Regions from separate parts of the Homo sapiens genome. Here all the other regions are linked to region 1. Evidence: promoter capture Hi-C in 16 types of primary human blood cells and fetal thymus (Javierre and others, 2016). All regions are on one chromosome and are shown on one strand. Each heading gives the region's core, a stretch centred on a gene start or on the middle of the fragment in contact. The rest is flanking DNA. Distances are from core to core; before and after follow the strand shown. Region 1 holds the start of CHST15 (carbohydrate sulfotransferase 15). Region 2 has its middle 5.3 kb from the start of NKX1-2. Region 3 has its middle 24 kb from the start of OAT. Region 4 has its middle 41 kb from the start of OAT. Region 5 has its middle 64 kb from the start of OAT.

Region 1 (2,549 bases), core at 17-2,516:
TCAGAGCTGCCTCGCTCGGCTCGCCGCACCAAGGCCGGCCAGAGACGCCGCCACCGCCGGGAAGCGCCGGCAACTCCCGAGTCACGCCGCCTCCCGAGACGCGGCGGGGCGCAGGGAGGGGACAGCAGTGGGGGCGGGGCGGGGAGGAGGAAGGAGGAGGGGGCGGGGAGCAAAAGTTCACACCGCTCGGGGCTCAGCCGCTCCCCTATCTCTTCCCAGGCCCGCCCCCGCCATCCCCCTTCCCTGAACCGGGTCCCACGGGCTTAGGCGCGGGAGAGCTCTGGCCTCCCCGCCCGGAACCGCCGCAAGGCTAGAGCCAGGGTTCTGGAAGCGCATCCGAGCTCGCAACCGGGGAGAGAGTGGCGGATGCCCACTTACCTGCCCCGGGCCGCGCCTGGAAACTTCCCCAAAGTGCGATAGGGGTGTGGGGGCGGAGCGCAAGGCTGGGGGGAATCCCCGTCCCCTACCGCCAAACGACGCGCGCTCACACCGTGAAAGCACTGGTCTGTCCGTCGGTCGGTCCCCCGCCTGCGGCTCCCAGAGCTGGGCGGTGCAGGGGCGCCCCGATTCCGACTACTGGGCTCCTTCTCCCGGACAGCCCGCCGGTGCGTTCCACGCGGCTTGCGCCCCCCGCCGGCCTCCGGCTATCCACGGCGCCACCACGCCACTGCTCGGTCCCCTGTCCCCTCGCTCCGGCCGCGTCCTCTCTGCGAGGGAGGGGGCGTGTGTCGCCGCTGGGTAACCCTTCCCGCGGGGTCCTCAAGCGCGCAGGGCGCCCGGAGCGCGGCCAGGACCAATGGCGAAGGGACTCCTCCCGCTGGGGATCGCTGAAGCCTCGGGGAGGCCGGGCCAAGGAGCCCGGGGCCCAAACCTGCCTCGGCTCGTCGAGCTCGCAAGTTCATTGTCTGCCTGGGCCGCCGCCGCCACCGCCACCGCCACCACCGCGCCGGGAGCGCCGCGGGGAGTGAGGCTGCGCGCCGCCTCCGCCGGCCCGGACTCCCTACGCCCAGCCCCGGCCGCCGCCGGCGCTGCCTGGCCCGAACCCGCGGAGGGGCGCCGGAGCCCCGAGCCCAGGGCCAGACCTCCTACCGCCGCTCCTCGCCGACCCCACCTCGGCGTCTGGCACCTAACTTGTACCTGAGAAGCCTGAGTCCAGCCCGGGAGCCTCTGCGGCTCCGGCTCCGCGGGAGCGCGCCCAGCCCCGAGCCTCTAGCCCCGCATCCAGGGCGCGTCAACCTGACTCCCCGAGCGCTGGGAGGAAAAGTTTGGGAGTGACGTGCAGACGGCGAATGAAACATCCGAGGAGAACCCTCCCCCCGCCCCATGTCGCGCTGACACACATCAGCTCCAGTCTGGAATGTGAGATCAAGGCGTGTGCGCCGAGCGGTGGGTTTGGCCCCTGCCCCCTCCCCCTCCGAGTCAACACTGCTTGTGTGTTGCGGTGATTCCAAATAAAAGCACATCGAAACCCCTGAAATCTGGCAGTGACACCTTGCCAGATACTTCTTTTTTTTAAAGACAGAGTTTCGCTCTTGTTGCCCAGGCTGGAATGCAATGGCGCGATCTCGGCTCACTGCAACTTCCGCCTCCCGGGTTCAAGAGAGTCTCCTGCCTCAGCCTCCCGGGTTCAAGAGAGTCTCCTGCCTCAGCCTCCCGAGTAGCCGGGATTACAGGCATGCGCCACCACGCAAAATAGGCTAATTTTATATTTTTAGTACAGACGGGGTTTCTCCATGTTGGTCAGGCTGGTCTCGAACTCCCGACCTCAGATGATCCGTCCGCCCCCCCAACCCAAAGTGCTGGGATTACAGGCGTAAGCCACCGCGCCCGGCCGCCAGAGACATCTTTAAGGAACTTGGCGGTCTGGAGCCAGCCCGTACATTAATATTCAAGGCCACAGCGCTGGTGAGTTCGGCGCCCTCTGTTGTATTTTTGCATCCCGGGAAGGCTGGCCCGGCTCTTTGGCCCGGCGTGTTTTGCTTCCGCGGGGGAGGTAAAGCTCTGCAGGACCCCGATCGCCACGGCCTGCCGCAGTGGCCTGGAGTCGGCTGCCCCAGGGAACCACCTGGACAGCCCGAGGGCAAGAAAGCGGCACCAGTGGCCGACTCCACTGACTCTGGGCTGAAGATGCCATCAGTTAAAGAAAAGACACATGAAATTCTGGCAGATTCGCTCAGAGGGCGCTTGGAGCACCAAGCCCAGCCTCTCAGGAAACTGAGGTCCAAGGGACAAAAAGAATCTGCAGTCTCTTGCCGGCCTGTGTCCCCGTGGCCAGAGTCCAGCACCCTCTTCCTCGAAGCAACCAGAAGTGGAAATGAAAGTGCTCCGTTAACTGTAGACTACATGCCACCGAAGGGTCATTCCTGACAGTGGCTTCTCCCCATTATCTCTTTATTGCCGGAGGCTTCATCTCGCCCCCCTGAAGCTACAGTCCACCCTGAGGTCATAAACTTCTGCTCAGCACCCATGGCAACTAATGCAGAGGTCACCATCAGAGGATTATAACTGCAGATGGGAAACCGGGATGAGAGGGGAGTTCTTTAAAATCC
Region 2 (2,549 bases), core at 33-2,532, 360 kb after region 1:
TGTAACAAGCTCGGGATCAATATTCATAGCGGGTGTCCTGGGCTGATAACACTATCCAAGACAATGTTCACTATCCGTGCAGACAGCTGAGATATTGCACCATTAGGGATGTTGTGTTAAATAACCTGATCCATTTCTGGGGCTATTTAATGAATTTCACAGTTTAGATAGTATCTTTAAGGAGAAGGCAAAGGCTATTCCGGAGGCACTGATGCAAATCAATGGTGCCAAGCTTCCTAAGGTATTCCACAAACAAAGGTGCCTATAATTCCAGCACAGCCTTGAAGAGCCGCTGAGTGCCATGAATAGTGTTAACAATGGAAAGAATTTGCAGTTTATGCAGAGGGAGTGGGGGGGAGGGGGCAATATTATGAGCCGTGTTAAAGCATTTTAGATAAAATCTTATGTTCCTAAAGTAAAATGCAACTGAAATTCTCCAGGTAAAACCCTGCGTTTTGAGCCAGCCCCCAGGGTAGGATATATGTGCCAAAGAGACAGCTTCATAAGACACAGCTTGATGACAAAGAGGGACACCTCAACTGCCAGACAGCCTGTGGGTAACCCCTTTTCCCAGTACCTCAGCCACCTTCCCCAAGATGTGCTTCTTCTACTCAAATTGGTCTGTAATATGGGAGAGGGTAAGCACTAGGTTTTAGAAGGAAGCCACAGATAGCAGAATCCATTGTTTGTTTACTGGACTCTATCTCCCTTGGTGCTGGAGAGGTCATTTACAATTAAAGGCTAGCATTTACCATTTCCCACCAGAGCTTTGAACTCTGGCTGCCAAGCACAGCAAGTATTCCCCCCGGCAAAAAAAAAAAAAAAAAAAAAACACCTCATAGACTAACTTGTGAAAGCTGAGTTGAAAATATAGCCTTCCCACCTGACCCCAAACCAAAGTTAAAAAAAATCAACTCCCTCATCTTAGGGCATGCTCCCTGCCACTGGTGGGTGCTTGAGCTTAATGGGCAAGGAAAATGGAGACGGGTGGCCGCTGAGGACCACATGCTCACAGAAGTTATGGAGATGCAGAGACTCAGCAGGGACATGGAGAGTCAAAAACAAGTGTGCAGGCTGGACGTGGTGGCTTACATCTGTAATCCCAGCACTTTGGGAGGCCGAGGCGGGCAGAACACCTGAAGTCAGCAGTTCAAGACCACCCTGGTCAACATGGCGAAACCCTGTCTCTACTGAAAATACAAAAATTACCCAGGTGTGGTGGCAGGCGCCTGTAATCCCAGCTACTGGGAAGGCTGAGGCAGGAGAATCACTTGAACCTGGGAGGCGGAGGTTGCAGTGAGCCGAGATCACACCATTGCACTCCAGCCTGGGCAACAAGAATGAAACTCCGTCTCAAAAACAAACAAACAAACAACAAAAACAAGTGCAGAGCAGAGCGGAGAAGCCACGAGAGACAGGCAGACAGGTGGGTTCCAGCTGCTGCCACTGTTGCTGACTTCTTCCTGATGCTGGTTGTTCCATTCCGGGTTCCCTGGGAGCCTCACTGCATCCCTACAATACTATTTCTTCTTGAGGGCTTCCCTGACTTACCCCACGCGGACTGGAGCACTCCTTCCCACATTGTTTCTGGGGCACGCTGCCATCATAGCCCTTGATGGACATCTCTTGGTTTTGCCTGATCTGAGGATCCACTCCCCCTTTTCTGGTGTCTGTAGCTGATTTTGATGAGATCCCCCTGGGCCCCCACCCTTGTATGTGGTAGTGATGGGACTGCCAATCAGGCCCCCCAACCTTCTTCTGGCCGGGAGGTAAGAGTGAGCCCCTGCAGTAGAGTCCTACTGGCCTCTCTCCCGGGAGTATCTGAAGCAGAGTGACACCGCTTCATTGTGGCAGTGGTGCCCAAAACTAAATAATCTGTTATTTCCCACTCTTGACGCTGATGGTTCCAGTACTTGCCCAGGTCTGGTTGTTCAGCATTTCCTTTGATTTTGTAAATTGCCTACACTCTTCCCAACCTTCTCTTCCCCTCTGCATTTTGGAATTCAATTAGCCAGAGTCAAGGAACCCTGACAGGCACAGCCTTTATCACACTGCCTGGCATACAGATTCTGGTCCTTGGATTGTCTTAAAGTCAGGGAGGGCAGAGCGTGCATCCCTGTGCCCACCAGTACCTTGGTGTTTGGTAGGTTGAAGAGTCGAAAGCAATAAATGGTGGCCCAGTAACACAAACCCAAAGCTCCACAGTTTGACTAAGATGGATTGGAAACCCATGAGAGACCATATAGGCTGAAGACAAAAATCGGATCAAGAAATATTTAGGTACGGATAGAGGTTCATAAAGGGTCTGACTCCCATGCTGAGCATCTGTGGAACAAGCTTATGTTTTTATTCAGGTCATCCATGCTGGGTACCATGCTTTTCATAAAGAAAAATGCAGGGGCCAGGCACAGTGGTTCACACCTATAATCTCTGCACTTTGGGAGGCTGAGGCGAGAGGATACTTGAGCCCAGGAGTTTGAGGCTGCAGTGAGCTATGAGTCATGCCACTGCACTCCAGTCTGGGTCATAGTACAAGACCCTGTCTCAGA
Region 3 (2,549 bases), core at 25-2,524, 300 kb after region 1:
TTGTGATACAGCCAGGCTATCAGCTCTACGCCATCTCTTCCTTATCTAGATGTCACCCTTATCTGAAAGAATCCTTCTCCCGAAGCTTCCTCTCTCCCAAACTCCTCCAACTGTATGTGTTGGGGGTGGGGAGGGGGAGCTAGCAACTTATTTATTGATCTGTAATTCTGTGCCAGGTCCTCCACCAGGAGCTTGACCTACTCCATCTTTTTTAATCCTCCTAACTCCCCTGAAAGGTAGATAGCATCCCACTTCCTCACAGCTAAGGAAAGGGAGTATCTAACCACAGCAGTTGCCCTGATGTTCTACCCCAAATCCAAAGCCTGTGTCTGACTCTCCCTGCCTCCCGCTTCACCACCCCTCCACTTCATCCCCAGGGCACTAAGTGCCGTCAGCAGGTTCCTGCCCACCTGTTCACCACTGGACATAGGCCCTGAGGCCCTACAACCAGTGTGTACTGCATGAGTAAGCCCTAAACCATCAGCCAGAAAGGATTTTCTTTTGTTTGTTCCTTTTTGAGACAGAGTTTCGCTCTGTTGCCCAGGCTGGAGCGCAATGGTGCAATCTCTGATCACTGCAACCTCTGCCTTCTAGGTTCAAGTGATTCTCCTGCCTCAGCCTCCCGAGTAGCTGGGATTACAGGAATGCACCACCACGCCTGGCTAATTTTTTGTATTTTTAGTGGAGATGGGGTTTCTCCACGTTGGTCAGGCTGGTCTCAAACTCCCGACCTCAGGTGATTCGCCCACCTCAGCCTCCCAAAGTGCTGGGATTACAGGCATGAGCCACCGCACCCAGCCTAGGATTTTCTAATAGGATCACGCCACGCCCCTGCTTCAACCCCTTTCTTCAGTGACCCCACTGCTCACCAAATTAAGCCCAAAGGCCCTCATTGTCATTGGCCACCGTCTCCACAACTCCCTGTACTTTCCTACCTCTGGGTCCTCTCTGACTTTTAAAGCCTTCAAAGAATTTAGCAGGAAGATAGCTTTGTTAAAAATCACCTGCCCTAAGGTCATCTCTGGTGAGAATAACTGAATGCAAATTAAACTGACTCATCATAATAATAGTATGTCCTAAGGCAACCTGCAAATGTGGAATCTCCAGTACACACACACAGAGAGAGACTGAATTAGAATCTGCATCTTAAGGCTGGGCACTGTGGTTCACACCTATAATCCCAGCACTTTGGGAGTCCAAGGCAGGTGGACCACTTGAGCTAAGGAGTTCAAGACCACCCTGGGAAACATGGCAAAACCCTGTCTCTACCAAAAATACAAACCAATTAGCCAAATCTGGTGGCACACGGCCATGGTCCTAGCTAGTAGAGAGGTTGAAGTGGGAGAATCGCTTGAGCCTGGGAGGTGGAAGTTGCAGTGAACCGAGATCATACCACTTCACTCCAACCTAGGTGACAGTGAGACTATGTCTCCAAAACAAAAATCTGCATCTTAATAAGATTCCTAAGACAGGTTCTCAACCTTGAATGCCCTGGAGAGCTTACCTGGCCTGGGTGCCACCCCAGTTGTAATTGGTATGAGGAGGCCTCCCAGTAACTGCTCACTCATTTAAACGTAGTCATTCAGTGACAGAGCACTACCCTGACAGAGTACCAAAGACTCAACTCTCATACTGCTAAGAGGTAACTTTTTAGAACCTGGGGGAGGCAGGGAGCAATGTGACACAATTAACTTGAGTTTTTTTTCTTTGAAAAGCAAGTCACTTCTAGGGATTTACTCCATAGAAACACTGTGCACTTTTGCACCATTGTGAAAAGATATGAAGTGGTCACAAGTTTTATTCAAGTCAAATGGTCCCAATATGAGATGAAATTACAGTATACCCATATATGATGAAATACTAATTATTTGAGAATAAGACGGAAAAACATCCAAAATACTCTGTTCAGGTAAAAAAAAAAAAAAAGAAAGAAAGAAAAAAGAAAAAGTTGCAGAACACCACATATAAAAAGGATAACTTTAAAAAAATGATAAATATTAGTATATGCACAGAGAACGCGCTACTTTGAAAGGGAAGTATGAGACCTATCTTTTAGATGTATTCTTTTTATAACTTCTAGTTTTCTGTAGATCAGAGTTGAAATGCTGTTAGAAAACACATGGAATATGCCGGGCACAGTGGCTCATACCTGTAATCCCAGCACTTTAGGAGGCCGAGGTGGGTGGATCACCTGAGGTCAGGAGTTCGAGACCAGCCTGACCAACATGGTGAAACCCCATCTGTACTAAAAATACAAAAATTAGCTGGGCATGGTGGTGTAGGCCTATTGTCCCAGCTACTTGGGAGGCTGAGGCACAAGAATCATTTGAACCTGGGAGGCGGAGGTTGCAGTGAGCTGAGATCACGCCATTGCATTCCAGCCTAGGCAACAGAGCAAGACTCTGTCTCAAAAAAAAAAAAGGAATACAAAAAAAAGAAAACACATGGAATAAATAAATCTCAAAAAGCTTAAAAATGTAACTGATAGGCTGGGCGCAGTGGCTCACGCCTGTAATCCCAGCACTTTGGGAGGCCGAGGCAGGTGGATC
Region 4 (2,549 bases), core at 16-2,515, 280 kb after region 1:
CTCAGGAGGCTGAGGCAGGAGAATCACTTGAACCCAGGAGGCAGAGGTTGCAGTAAGCCGGGATCGCGCCATTGCACTCCAGCCTGGGCTACAAGAGAAACTCCGTCTCAAAAAATAAAAATAAAAAAAATAAAGATGGTGTCTGGGACAGAGACTTCCTGGAGATGGGAAGAGGGGGTCGAGTACCATGACCCAGGTGGGTGAACCTCAGCAAATGAGGGAACAGAGTCCTTTCTCCACAGACACTCACACCGGCAGCACATCCGTCCGCTCCCTAGGTCTGACACTGCTGTAAGACCACCTTGCCTTCCGGTGCCCTTAGAGCCCCTCCACTCGGGTTCTGTGTGGCCAAGTTAGTTCCTCCCAGCACCCCGGGCTTCCCCCGCTTCTCCCAAAGGTGATGTTAATAAAGACATCACATCACATCTTTTCCTCCTTCCAGATGACAGTACACAAGCCGGACGGAAGGTAGAGGATGGGGTAAGGAGCTGGGGGAAATGCTGTCATTTCCCCACAGTCATTCCTGCAGGTTTTTGGACAGGAGAAAGGCTTGTTATTATAGAGCCATCAGAGCCATCAGCCTCCTTCTGCAGGTGGGCGGAAGTCAAGTCCGTTTGAGGCCTCCATCCCCTTGGCCCATTCACCATTCAAATCCTCCCGAGAGTGCCCGCCAGTGGCAGACAAAGCCCGATGGAGTCTCAAGAACTAGGATCCTCTCCTGCCCTGACCCCTACCCCATTATCCCAGGCGAGATTACAGATTTGTGAACTTCAGTATAAAGAAATTTTTTGAAAATTCCACTTCAAAGAGCCAGTGGGTCTTCAGCCCCCACCTCTGGGCACAACCTCCAAGGGGTGGCAGTTGGTGTCTCTCCCAGCCCCTGAGTCCCTGTAGGGGTTGTTCACAGAGGTTGTGCCTGAGTTTTCTCTCATGCACGAAAGACCCTACAGAAGCCTTGGAAGACTGTGGCTCTGCCCCTTTCTTTGAGATCTTCTGGGGTCTCCAAGGGACAAGAGTGCATGGGGTTCCCTGCCAGTAGCTCCCCTTCCTCTCGGGTGCCAGGCTTTGTCTCGGAGGTAGCCCGGCTGTTGGCACCAAGTAGGCCCCCCACACTGTGCCATCTTTTGGAGTGAAGACCGCATGGGGGTAGCACTCCAGTCCTCGAGACCACCTTCCTCGTGCCCTTTTCTCAACTCTTCTCTCCCCCTTCTTCCAGCACAGCACCCACCTTGTTCCCCCTTAAATCAGCTGAGTGTTTATGGGCACCGGCTGCAGGTCCAGCACCTGCTCTGGGGATTGATGGTTTAGAAAATGAATAAAGGGAGGTGGGGAAAGAAGATGGCAGTGGGAGCACCCAGCCCTGTCCTGCTTCTTTGCAGAAGTGGTCGGAGAGTCCCCTAGAGTCAGGAAGAATGCCGTTGGTGGACCATGAGCTCCCCCAGGGCTGGGACTGTGCCTCGTCACCTTTGTGTGGCCAGCGCTGACTTGGCTCCCAGGCTTCCATTTGCACACATGTGAAATGGGCCTCATAATGCTTCCTTCTCAAGGCTGTTGTGAGACTTAGATACAATGCTGCATGGCAAACGTCCAGCACAGAGTGCTTGTGGCAGTGCCCTCTCAGCGCGGGAGGACAATGTTGGGCAAACTTGCTGGGCCACACGTACACAGCGGTGCTAATGGCAGTGCCTGCCTTGGGATCCCGGGAGGATGAAGTGGAATGCTGATGATGGCGAGGACCATTCTGGAACCTAGCACTTCAGCACCCAGTGAATGTGATTCAGAGATGGTGTGGGGAGCCAGGTGCACACTTGTAATTCCACCTACTCAGGAGGCTGAGGCAGGAGGATCACTTGAGGCCAGGAGTTCGAGACCAGCCTGGGCAACATAGCAAGATCTCTGTCTCAAAAAGGAAGAAAGGAAAGAGAGAAAGAGAGGGAGGGAGGGAGGGAGGGAGGAAGGAAGGGAGGGAGGGAGGGAGGGGATGCAGAGGGCAGGGGAAGGGAAGAATAACTGGGCACTGGGCTTGTCCTCTTGAAGACTGCCAACTCCTGCCCGCCCAACACAGCCTAGCCCCAGAATGTTTATTGCAAACCTGGTGGCGTGGAAACGCAGATGCCATTTGGGGAAAGAATCAGCCTTCACGGGAGGGAGAATGCAGTGAGGAGGGATGGAGGAGGCCTGAGTCCAAGAAGGAAGAAGGTTATGTAGACGAGGTCAGATGGAAAAGGGTCAGGACAGATGCAAAGAAGATGCTGGGTGTGGCCAGTGGTGCTGACGCCCCTCTTGGCCCACCCAGGCTCACCAGGGGCAGGTGGACAGTACACCTGCCCACCCACGCAGCATGAGGGCCTGTCTGCTCGACATCTGCAGAGCCAAGGGTGGCCAAGAATGTTACCCTTCAAGTAACCATGGAAGGTAAGTTAACTTCAGTCCTCCCAGACTCCATGGTGCCCACAGTGCCCAATTTTGGAAGGATAGTTATGCAAGGATATGGACAGAAGGCCCGGAAAGAAAGCTGCAAGCCATCTTCAGGAGCTCTATCTGCCAGA
Region 5 (2,549 bases), core at 50-2,549, 260 kb after region 1:
GGCTCCTCATCCTGCACAGGTCCCCTTGGATCACACGCGTGGGTTTAGGGGTGCAGGAATGAGGTCTTCCCAACATTCCAGACCACGGGGGATAGTTCCTCCCGGCTCCAAACCATATGCCCACCCTGAAGCTCCATGCTGCAGCCAGAGACCCTGAGGCACAGGCTGGGGGAGCAGAGGAAGCCACGACCCACCCTGGGTGAAACTTGGCATCACCAGTGTCCCTGCAGCAGGAGTCCCCCCCACCCCACCACAGGACAGCTGTGGTCTCAAGCCCCTGAAGGCTCCATGGCCCCGAGATCCAGGCCAACACTGCCCCACTCAGCTCTCACGCATTGCCACCAACACTCCCAGCCCCACGAAGGAAAAGAAAATCCCCCACTCAGCTCTCATGCATTGCCACCAACACTCCCAGCCCCGCGAAGGAGAAGAAAATCATTTTTCCTCTGAGCACAGCTGAGACAGGCAAATTCTCAAAGAAGCGCTGAGGATGGTGAAAGGAAATCTAATCTTGCCACTTACTGAGAGCTCAGGCCGCCGTCCCGTGAGTGGCCTCCCATCTCCCTCCTGGGTCCCTTGTCTTTGTCCCAGCTTCTTCCTTAGCTGTGCTCACTAAGTGCGCAAGGATTTGAACCAGCCCTGTGCCCATCAGGGGAATTCCCAGGCAATGCAGGTTGCCAAGGACATCTATAGGCCCAGAGCACCGCGAAATACAGGCCTGGGGGAGGCACTCAACCTGTGAGCTGAGCAGATTTGCTGGCGGCGAAAGCTCCCAGCAACCTCACCCCTCTGGTGGGATGCCCCAGGCTTCTGCTTCCCGAGACCCCCCGGGGGAGAGGGGTCAGCTGCCCCTAATAGTGAGCCTTCCCGGGCTCACCTCTCCACGACAGGTGCTTCCAGGATCACCTCCCAAATACATCCCCCTCCCTCCAATGCCGGTCTCAGGGTCTGCTTTAGGAGTGAGGAAACCAAACCAAGATAGAGGACAAAGACTGAGAGTTTGGCAAAGGAAGGACTCAAAGAAGTGGTCCATGATAGAGGAGACAGGATGGAGGCACTTCTGTGTCGTTTGAGTCTCACTATGGTCCTTTAGCGTAGGTGATATTATTCCCATGTCTCAGCTGCAGCCATTGAGGCTCAGACACGCCCCAGATTCCCCACTGAGGACAGGTGAAGCTGGGATTCAAACCCAGGCCACTGACCGGAGCCCAGGTCCCAGATGCTTCCAGGCAGAGCTGGGGGAAATGGCATGTTCTCTGGAACTGGGACATTTTCAACCATTCCATGAAGTTAATACGATGACAGAAAACTGGCTCATTGAGTCCCTGGGACTGAGGAGAAGGCAGTCAGAGGGAGGACCACGTTTTATGCTCCCGATCGCCCCATCCCCTCCCCCCGCAGGCCTCGTGCTTCCCACCACCCGCTCATTCATTCCGCACGTTGAACAGCCTCATCTCCCTCTTTTCCCTTATCTCAAAAAGCCCAGAGCTCAGCTTTCTCTTCAAAAGCTCCGCTAATGAGAAGCACATTTGATTTCCTCGGGGGAGGCAGCTGTGGGATGAGAGCCGGAAGTGTAAACTCTGCTGGTGGCTGAATCATCGCGGTGCTTCTTAACTTTTTATGGCGATGTTTTCTAATTTTCTAAAAACACATAGAAGAATGAGGCTCATCGCTCTCGTTATCGGCATTGACTGGAGTGGAGTTCAAAAGGCTACAGATGGTGTTGAAATATTCTCCACAGGCTGGGGAGGCCGGCGTTCAGAACCCAGGGCCCCGCCCTCCTCGGGCCAGGCACGGGGAAGGCAGGACCCAGGGGAGCAGCCAGCACTGCGCATGCTGGGAGTGTTCAATAAATACAGGCTGAATGAATGAATGAACTGATGCAACCAAAACTTTCTTTTTCTCCAAGGAAATTAAAATGATTGGCCTATGACGACCCATTAATAAGATGGAATATGATACAGTCAAAAACTTAATGACTGGGAGAATATGTAATGACAGTGATAAAGTATTCCCCTTTTATTTTTAAAGTGAAAAGCAAATTGAAAAAAATAGAATTAGATCCGAGCTTTATTTTCAACACATGTACATAAATAAGCCAGGCACAGAAAGACAAATGTCATGCATTCTCACTTATTTGTGGGATCTAAAAATCAAAACAATTGAATTCATGGACATAGAAAGTAGAAGGATGGTTTCCGGAGGCTGGGAAGGATAGTTAGGGGTGGGGGCAGGGAGAGGGGGGATGCTTAATTAGTACAAAAAAAATAGAAAGAATGAGGCAGGGCGTGGTGGCTCAAGTCTGTAATCCCAGCACTTTGGGAGGCCAAAGTGGGCGGATCGCCTGAGGTCAGGAGTTCGAGACCAGCCTGGCCAACGTGGTGAAACCCCGTCTCTACTAAAAATACAAAAATTATCCGGGCGTGGTGGTGGGCGCCTGTAACTCCAGGTACTCGGGAGGCTGAGGCATGAGAATCACTTGAACCCGGGAGGTGGAGGTTGCAGTGAGCCGAGATTGCGCCACTGCACTCCAGCCTGGGCAATAGAGC

The links. Contacts are between HindIII fragments. The CHiCAGO score rates a contact against its expected background, and 5 or more counts as called.
Region 2: a fragment that was not itself captured here is called in contact with the fragment with the promoter of CHST15 in region 1 in 1 of 17 cell types (monocytes); the score reaches 5.5 in monocytes.
Region 3: a contact is called between a fragment that was not itself captured here and the fragment with the promoter of CHST15 in region 1, in 3 of 17 cell types (monocytes, neutrophils and M0 macrophages). The highest score is 10.2, in monocytes.
Region 4: a contact is called between a fragment that was not itself captured here and the fragment with the promoter of CHST15 in region 1, in 6 of 17 cell types (neutrophils, monocytes, M0 macrophages and 3 more). The highest score is 12.5, in neutrophils.
Region 5: a fragment that was not itself captured here is called in contact with the fragment with the promoter of CHST15 in region 1 in 3 of 17 cell types (monocytes, M0 macrophages and neutrophils); the score reaches 8.1 in monocytes.

What each region holds. Positions count from the first base shown.
Region 1 is chr10:124,092,332-124,094,880 of GRCh38, forward strand. CHST15 (carbohydrate sulfotransferase 15) reads right to left here and starts at 1,267. Exons shown (of 8, transcript NM_001270764.2): 1 at 1,138-1,267. The HindIII fragment of the contact is 12,111 bases long and covers 1-2,549 here.
Region 2 is chr10:124,454,107-124,456,655 of GRCh38, forward strand. No RefSeq gene overlaps it. Among named protein-coding and RNA genes, the nearest start is that of NKX1-2, 5.3 kb to the left of the region's middle. The HindIII fragment of the contact is 2,105 bases long and covers 231-2,335 here.
Region 3 is chr10:124,393,735-124,396,283 of GRCh38, forward strand. No RefSeq gene overlaps it. Among named protein-coding and RNA genes, the nearest start is that of OAT, 24 kb to the right of the region's middle. The HindIII fragment of the contact is 2,383 bases long and covers 84-2,466 here.
Region 4 is chr10:124,376,214-124,378,762 of GRCh38, forward strand. No RefSeq gene overlaps it. Among named protein-coding and RNA genes, the nearest start is that of OAT, 41 kb to the right of the region's middle. The HindIII fragment of the contact is 6,926 bases long and covers 1-2,549 here.
Region 5 is chr10:124,353,441-124,355,989 of GRCh38, forward strand. No RefSeq gene overlaps it. Among named protein-coding and RNA genes, the nearest start is that of OAT, 64 kb to the right of the region's middle. The HindIII fragment of the contact is 6,746 bases long and covers 1-2,549 here.